3 separate regions of the Homo sapiens genome follow, and all the other regions are linked to region 2. The links are contacts of gene promoters, found by promoter capture Hi-C in blood cells and fetal thymus (Javierre and others, 2016). All regions are on one chromosome and are shown on one strand. Each heading gives the region's core, a stretch centred on a gene start or on the middle of the fragment in contact. The rest is flanking DNA. Distances are from core to core; before and after follow the strand shown.

Region 1 (2,792 bases), core at 85-2,584, 150 kb after region 2:
AAATGACAAGGTAGCTACAGATGTGGTGTTCAGGTCAAGAAGGCAGGGTCACTCCTCCCTATGGCTAAGTGTTGGCTGTGATGATGTGCTTAGGCACACAGTGCCATTTAAACATACCTTATCTTTTATCTGATAAATGATTTTTTAAAAATTACCTGTATTCATCAATGGCTAATACTACTGTTCACCTAAATCCAGTACAACTAATTTTCCCTCCAGCTTTGGAAATAGATCAGTTTTTCTCCACCTGAGCACCAGAGAAAGTAGTTGTCCCACTCTCACCCCCACAAGTATATATATTTGGGGGTCTTTTTGTGTGAAAAATAGTTTCTTTAGAAAATTAGGTTCATCATCTGTGAGAGGTGCTCATGCTGTGGTGTGTGTTTTTGTTTTTAGTCACTTTTTTTTGTTGTAGAAGGCAGTAGAGCATCTTTGTTAATAGCAGGGGCTTTGGGGTACCCAACCCATGGCCATATGCATTTGGCCAAGTTAATTAACATCTTTGAGCTTCACTTTTGTGGAAAGGGGGAAATAATTGTAACTCCTTGGGTATTGAAAGTTATTAAATGAGAGATAAATGCATGTAATGGTCCTAGCTCATAATGAATTCTAACTTTAAAATTTTTGGTCTTGTTAGTGATACGTTTTTCCAAATTTATTTTCTTTGGTTAATATTTGAAAGCTTTACCAACCAGATTCAGAAAATATTTCCAACTTGATATGTAAACAAGAATACAACACTTAGTATGTGCTCTCCTGGTTGTGTCAAGGTAGTGCAAATATGGCAGATTTCAGCACATTTTGTAGTTATTAAGTATTGAACATTTTTATAGCTAATTTCTTTCTTTGATTGCAGCACCCATATATCTCCCATCAGCATCCTACCAGCCTCTACAGAGTAAGTAGTATATTTATAGAAGACAAATTTTTAAGATTTTAAAATACTACTAAGCTGTAGAAATGAAAATAATGTACTTGTGCTCACTTTAGAGGAAAGACTGTACACAGGCAGTAAACTAGTTTTTTATGTACTGTGATAGGAACAAATGAAGAAGAAACCCATTGCATTACTATACAAAATAAAGATGAGCTTTCTTCAGATGGTTTTTTTGAATCCTCTGAAATAATTGAAAAATGTTCATAGAATATAAGTTTTAAAAAAGTAGACTTTACATAAGAAGTGTGAGCAGTACTCATGGTTTCTTTCATTTTGCTGTTAGTAGGTTATTTTGCTTTATAAGTATAGCTTTGAAAAGCCTTATTTAGTGGTTTTCTGTGTAGTGAGGAGTGAATTATAGGGACAACTGATCTTTCCCATCCCAGTAATAATAGTGACATTATGGTTGATTTGTATATGATTGTCTGTTTGGGTAAATTTTACTTTTAAAACTTAAGCCAGTATCATGTATTCCTTTTATGTATTTCTTTTTACACTTTGGTTTACCCATTTAAGTACCATAATAGTTTTACTGGTCATAGGTTTTAGCATTTATGTCTGTGTCACCAGATATCCAGTTAGAGTGACTGCTTCTTACTAAAACGTGTTGTTTTGTAGTATTTTAGAAAGAACAATTAGAGCAGCTGTGGAACAGCACCTTTTTGATCTTCAGAGCAGCATAGATCATGATCTTAAGAATTTACAACAGCAAAGTGTGGTGTGTAATAATGAAGCAGAAAGTATTCATTGTGATGGGGAAGGATCTAATAACCAGTAAGAAACATTTTACTGTTGTTTATTAAATGTTATAAAATTGTTTTATCTTAAAACTGTATTGCTACTTAAATAACAGGATCTCATCTTTCTTGGAGATTTCTGAAAGTTGTTTGTGAAAAGTGACTTTGTATATATACTTGTATATACATCCATACTTAACACTGGATATCTCATCACTTTTTTCATAATATATGTTTTATTAAGTCCAATACAGGTTTGTTTGTTTTTTGTTGTTTTTTTTCCCCTGAACATCGAATGAAGTAACAAGCTTACCTTTAGGAATTATGTTGTATGAAAAATAACTTTAAAAAATTAGACTCTGCAACAGAGTGATCTAGACAGACAGTTACAGGGGCAGCAGATTGATATCACTATAGTGCATATAATCATTGAGTGAAATGGTGGGCAGAATCATCCTTTGCTATTTAAATAGTTATCCCTTCCCACCAGCCTCTCCCCTGCTTATGTTTTTGTTAGATTAACTCTTAATACAGGTTGAGCATCCCTAATCCAAAAATCCAAAATCTGAAGTGCTCCCAAATCCAAAACTTTGAGCACTGACATGATACTCAGAAGAAATGCTCATTTGAGCATTTTAGATTTTGGATTTTCAGATTAGGGATGCCAGTCTGGCACCTCTCCTTGGGATGTTGTGAGGGACCTTGTTTGTCATGCTCTCTGAAAATTTTCATAAGCAAATGAATGGCTTTTAAAATAATTTATGAGCCAGTTGCTAACTGGCAAATATTCCAAAATCTGAAAACAAACAAAACAAATCTGAAACACTTCTGGTCCGAAGCTTTTCCGACAAGGAATAATCAACCTGTATTTAAATGTGTATTAGTTAAAAGTACTTATAATGCATGATGTTACTCCACTCTTCATCTGACCTGTTACCTTTAAATGAAGGAAAGCCTCTCTTTGTTTTCTATTACTTCAGTCCTGTATTTCAGGATACCTGTGTGCCTCCCTCAGAGACCGTGGTGCAGTGATTTCATGTTTTTCATATATCAATTTTTTTTGGGGGGGGGAAGATGAGAAAAATGTACCCAAATCTAGAAGATTCATAGGAAGGTAA
Region 2 (2,700 bases), core at 73-2,572:
CATATGGCTGTGGAGATGCGGCAAGAAGTCCTGGAGCAGATTCAGGTACTGTATGCAGATACCTGTAGCCTCTGGAATCTTGATTTCAGAACGCCTATGAGAATAAAGGTGATTTCGAGGTGACTGTGTTCTCAGAGTTTATTTTTAAAGGTGATTAAGGCCCTGAAGGATTGATAATGTGCCTGCTGGTTTGGAAAACCCTGAGCCTCAGTAAGTCCAGCTCTGATAGTGAAGTAGTCTAGGAATGCAGGCAGCAGTGAAGAGCTCTCAAGAGAGCTGAGGATAGACAAGTAATGGGAATTCCCGCTTCCAGAGCCTCAAGTCAAGGGCTAAACTCCAAAGAGGCTGGAGTCACTGTGTATTTTTTGGTTGCTTCATCTGTTGTTATTAATGTACGTTCACACTTTCCCATCTTTAGGGGATAAGATATAGTAGCTAGAAGACATTTGTGGGTTTCTTTTCTGGGTAGCATCATACTTTAAAGAAAAAAGTATAGTTGAGTCTATTTGCCAAAAAAATAAACTTGCAATACTTTAGTGTTTAAGGTTCATAATAGCTTGCTATGTGTTCCTTAACCCTTTAGGTACTGAATATCTGGTTAGACAAAAGAAAAGGCTCAAGTAGTCTGGAAGGAGAACCAGCTAACCCAGTGGATGATGGAAAACCTGTTTTCTAACCTGGAGCTGCTATCCTGACTTTTTCTAGAGTTTGAATCTCTCCCGGAACTCTGACCTAGAGAGGATCCTGGTACTTCTTTGCCATGTCCTCATTTTCTTTTCCAACAAGAATAATACCTTAACTCACAACCAACGAGTCAAAGATGCATGTGGACATAATATAAAGAAAAAAAGGGGAAGCTGAGGTTTGGATTTATGCCATAAATGTTGCCCACATCTTTGTTCCATCGGCTTGATTTAAAGACAATTCCATTAGATCTTTTCTAAGCCTTTTACTCTATAAATAAATGTATTTACACAATAGGAATATTGCTTTTTAATGACTAGATAAGCTGGGCATAGAGGGCACAGCATCATCTGGTGAAACGAAGGTATCTGACACGGGTCATTTACATATACCGCCTGGAAAGGAATGGTTGGGGGAGGGGTTCTTATCATTTATAGAGTAGGGATAATTGAAGCATCCTTCAAACGGGAAGAAGGATGAAATAAGATAAATTATGAGTAAAATGTCAGAAAACATCTAGTGCTCTAAGATTCACAAGGAGAATAAAAGTGACTGGCTGGCTCCCTTTGGTTAAAACGAACTGGCCAGAAGCTGCAAGGTTCCTTGCTGGGATTGGCTCTCTGCAGCCACCGTCCCCACGCTGGGGCTTCAGGTCTCCTAGCAACAAGTTGTACCATATGAGGACGGCCGCTGAGGTGAGTACTTAGAGAGGGTCAAATTCAGAATTTGCAGGTGCAACCCGGAAAGTCCCCGCGGACCTAGAGGCCCTGCTTTTCAATTAGCCTGACCCTATGCACAGAGAGGTCCCTGCGGGACAGGGTCGCTTCACAGAGGCAGCTGGCCGAGGCCGCTCACCCGCCGCTGTAATGGTGTGTGGTTGCCCACCAGCCACCGTCCCCTCGAGCCCCCACCACCCGCTCTACCGCCCCCTCGAGCCCCCACCACCCGCCCCACCGCCCTCTGCTGCCTGGGGCTGTTGCTGGTTCCAGGCCTTCGGGTCGCCCCTTGGCCTCTGGTTATGTGAGCCCATAGTCCTTCCTGCCTTGGTGACATCGTATACGAAAAGCCGGGGCTCGATTTGGACATAGTAGGAATCCTATTATTGAGACCCTGTATATAGAAAAACATGGCAGTTTCTACCTTCATCAGTTAATAAAATCAAGTACCTACTATTGCTATTCTTAATCATAATTACATTGAATTTGCGATGGGGGTGGGGGGAAATGCATGTCATTGCAGTTGATACCTGTTAAGAAACTCTTAATTTGTGCCCTGAAAAGCCATAATGGAGATATCAATGCCTCCACCTCAGATATATGTAGAAAAAACTCTGGCCATTATCAAACCAGATATTGTTGACAAAGAGGAGGAGATACAAGATATTATTCTTAGATCCGGATTCACCATTGTTCAGGTAACTTCTGGGTATGATGATTCATGCTTTTTTCCTCTCTGCCCTTAAAAAAAAAATGCTTATGTAAATGTGCCTACCCATTTAAACCCTTAGTGTTCAGCATTAAATTTAAGTTTATTCTTCTAAGTATAAAAGTTATATGTGATAGTTTTTAAAAGGATGTAAAATGAGAAATAAAATGGACTTTTCCTTCACCTGTCCTCTTTTACCCCAAGTCCCAGGCTCCAGAGAGAGGCAACCACTTAACACTTTCTGTTCTTCCAGGAGTTTTCTATGCATTTATAAACATTTTCCCCCCATAAAACAGAACAGTCCCTTTCCCTTGACCCCTTTACAGAGTCCCTCAGATAGGATTCCAGATCATTGCATCTGAATTGATCTCACTCTTCCTAATTTCTGTGTAATATTTCCCTGTGTATTAGAACTACAATTTATTTACTTGATCTTCTATTGATGGAATTTTAGGCTATTGGTACTTTTTTCAGTTATGGCATAACATTTAATGTTTTAAGCCTTATGTTCTGCAATTAGTAAACATTGTCATTCTAGGGGTTTGAAAGTGAATATAAATAGCATTGTTAAGGATAAATCAAATAGAATTG
Region 3 (2,700 bases), core at 134-2,633, 230 kb after region 2:
CAATTATTACCAAGTTTTATTATTATTATTATTATTATTATTATTATTATTATTATTATTGTTTTAGAGATGGGGTTTCACTCTGTTGCCCATGCTGGAGTGCAGTGGTGTGATCATAGCTCACTGTAACCTCAAACTCCCAGGCTCAAGTGATCCTCCTGCCTCAGTGTCCTGAGTAGTTAGGAATACAAGCATATGCCACCACATCCAGCTAGTTGTTTTTTGTTTTTTTGTAGAAACGCAGTCTTGCTATGTTGCCCAGGTTGGTCTTGAACTCCTGGCCTCAGTGATTCTCCCATCTTGGCCTCCCTAATGCTGGGATTATAGGTGCCATGGCACCCAGCCTAAAGCTATTTTAAAAATACATGTTTGGCAGATTAGCAAAGGACGATCAGGTCAATATCAATAAAAATATTAAGATGGAGCCCTCTAAAGAAAACACTTAAGATTTCTTTTGGCTGGGTGTGGTGGCTCACATCTGTAATCCCAGCACTTTTGAAAGGCCGAGGCAGGAGGATCACTTGAACTCAGGAGTTCAAGACCAGCCTGGGCAACATGGCTAAACCTTATCTCTACAAAAAATACAAAAATTGGCTGGATGTGGTGGCACACCCAGCTACTTGGGAGGCTGAGGTGGGAGGACTGCTTGAGCCCAGGAGTTTTAGGATGCAATGAGCTGTGATAACGCCAGTGTAGTCCAGCCTGGGTGACAGAGTGGAGACCCTGTCTCAAAAAAAAAAAAAAAAAAAAAAATTTCTTTTGTCCAGAGAATAAACACCACAGAGACATGGGGGACAATTTCTATTATCTTAGGTAAAATTATCACTTCCAATGAAAAATGAAAAATTATTTTTCTAACTTGACCTATTAACACCTTAAAAATGGACACCGTCACCCATTTGGCTCCTTCAATGTCAAATCCTAATTTGAATGTGACAGATATTTAGCCATCAGTGAAAATATCAGCCAGGCTGGTGGCTCATGCCTGTAATCCCAGCATTTTGGGAGGCCGAGGCAGGAGGTTCACTTGAACCCAGAAGTTTAAAACCACCCTGGCCAACATGGTGAGACCAAAAAATAATAAAAATGTAATCAACCAAGCGTGGTGGTGCACACCTGTAGTCCTAGCTACTTGGGAGGCTGAGGATAGCTTGAGTCCAGAAGTTTGAGGCTTCAGTGAGCTATGAGACCCTGTCTCCAGAAAAATAAAAAGAAAAAGAAAATATCAAACTAAGTTTAAATATATTAAAGCTTATATTACTACTTATCATAGAAGGTTAGACCTTTCCAATTTTTTTTGTAAGAAAATATAGAAGATATAATTACATTTATACTAAGAGCTTACATGGAATTCTGAAAAGTGGAAAAGTCATCAACTTGTGATCCAAAAACAAGAAATCCTAACTGGGCATAAGCAAAGAATATTATAAAAAACATGATGGCAAATCCTACTATGTCTTTAACACAACGGGACAAGGTTGATGACAGCTGAGACATTGTCTTGTTAAAGCTTATGAATTTGAATATCTGAAAAAGAACAAAGTTAATTGAAATAGGAGAATATCAAAGATGAAATTACTTAGAATAAATTAATTTCAGAAGAATTCTGCTTCGAATTAAAGGAGATATTTAATGATAATCATGGGTGTTTGAGGATTTCCCAGCAATCATTACAAGGCCAAACTTCTGTTTTTTTTTTTTGAGATGGAGTCTCACTCTGTCACCCAGACTGGAGTGCTGTGGCATGATCTCGGCTCACTGCAACCTCTGCCCCCTAGGTTCAAGTGATTCTCCTGCCTCAGCCTCCCTAGTAGCTGGGATTACAGGCACGTGCCACCATGCCCAGCTAGTATTTTTTGTATTTTTAGTAGAGACAGGATTTCACCATGTTGGCCAGGCTGGTCTCAATCTCCTGAGCTCAGGTGATCCGCCCACCTCAGCCTCCCAAAATGCTGGGATTACAGGCGTGAGCCACCGTGCCTGGCCAACTTCTTTTTTTTCTGTCATCCAGGCTGGAGTGCAGTGGGGGATTACAGCTCACTGTAACCTCCACTTCACGGGCTCAAGGGATCCTCCCACCTCAGCCTCCAGAGTAGCTGGAACTACAGGCTTGCACCACCACACCCAGTTAATATTTTTTTGATATTTTTTGTAGAGATAGGATTTCCCAGGCTGGTCTCAAACTCCTGGGGCCAAGAATCTACCTGCCTTGGCCTTCCAAAGTGCTAGGAGTACAGGTATGAGCCACTGTGCTGGCCCAAACTACTTTTAAAATTACTTAATAGTTGAAAAAATCTTTTTTCCCCATGGCTTTTTAGTTTAATTTTTCATTATGCTATTACACTGCTTGTATTATGTAATATAATGAAATATAAATACCTTTATCCATGCAAAAAAGATGGTAATAGCAATTATATTATTGTAATAAATGTGCCAGCATGCAAGAAAATAGAAATCTGAATATTTTTCAGTACTTTTCAACAGCTGTCCAAGTAAGAGAAAAATTTGTACATTATAGTATGTGTTGAAGGAAACAGCCACAAAACACAACTAAATGGGAAAATAAGAAGGGTTAAATTAGAGAATATCTCTACCTCTAAATATCTTACAGCCTATGAGGAAACACAAAAAAAGTTCATCAAAAGTTTAACAAAGAGGGAAGGAAAGATAGGACATATGCTTTTACATAAATGGAAATTA

The links. The method cuts DNA at HindIII sites, captures the fragments that hold promoters and counts their contacts. A CHiCAGO score of 5 or more calls a contact.
Region 1: a fragment that was not itself captured here is called in contact with the fragment with the promoter of NME5 in region 2 in 1 of 17 cell types (naive B cells); the score reaches 5.1 in naive B cells.
Region 3: a fragment that was not itself captured here is called in contact with the fragment with the promoter of NME5 in region 2 in 1 of 17 cell types (M1 macrophages); the score reaches 5.2 in M1 macrophages.

What each region holds. Positions count from the first base shown.
Region 1 is chr5:137,986,380-137,989,171 of GRCh38, reverse strand. It overlaps FAM13B (family with sequence similarity 13 member B), which reads left to right. Exons shown (of 24, transcript NM_001385994.1): 8 at 857-898; 9 at 1,556-1,711. Among named protein-coding and RNA genes, the nearest start is that of FAM13B-AS1, 45 kb to the left of the region's middle. The HindIII fragment of the contact is 1,300 bases long and covers 685-1,984 here.
Region 2 is chr5:138,138,050-138,140,749 of GRCh38, reverse strand. It overlaps NME5 (NME/NM23 family member 5), which reads left to right and starts at 1,322. Exons shown (of 6, transcript NM_003551.3): 1 at 1,322-1,379; 2 at 1,965-2,098. The coding sequence starts at 1,970. BRD8 (bromodomain containing 8) reads left to right here. Exons shown (of 27, transcript NM_139199.2): 26 at 1-45; 27 at 584-980. The coding sequence ends at 676. The HindIII fragment of the contact is 15,003 bases long and covers 1-2,700 here.
Region 3 is chr5:137,907,592-137,910,291 of GRCh38, reverse strand. It overlaps PKD2L2 (polycystin 2 like 2, transient receptor potential cation channel), which reads right to left. Exons shown (of 15, transcript NM_001300921.2): 7 at 2,380-2,550; 8 at 1,346-1,527. Among named protein-coding and RNA genes, the nearest start is that of PKD2L2, 19 kb to the right of the region's middle. The HindIII fragment of the contact is 259 bases long and covers 1,254-1,512 here.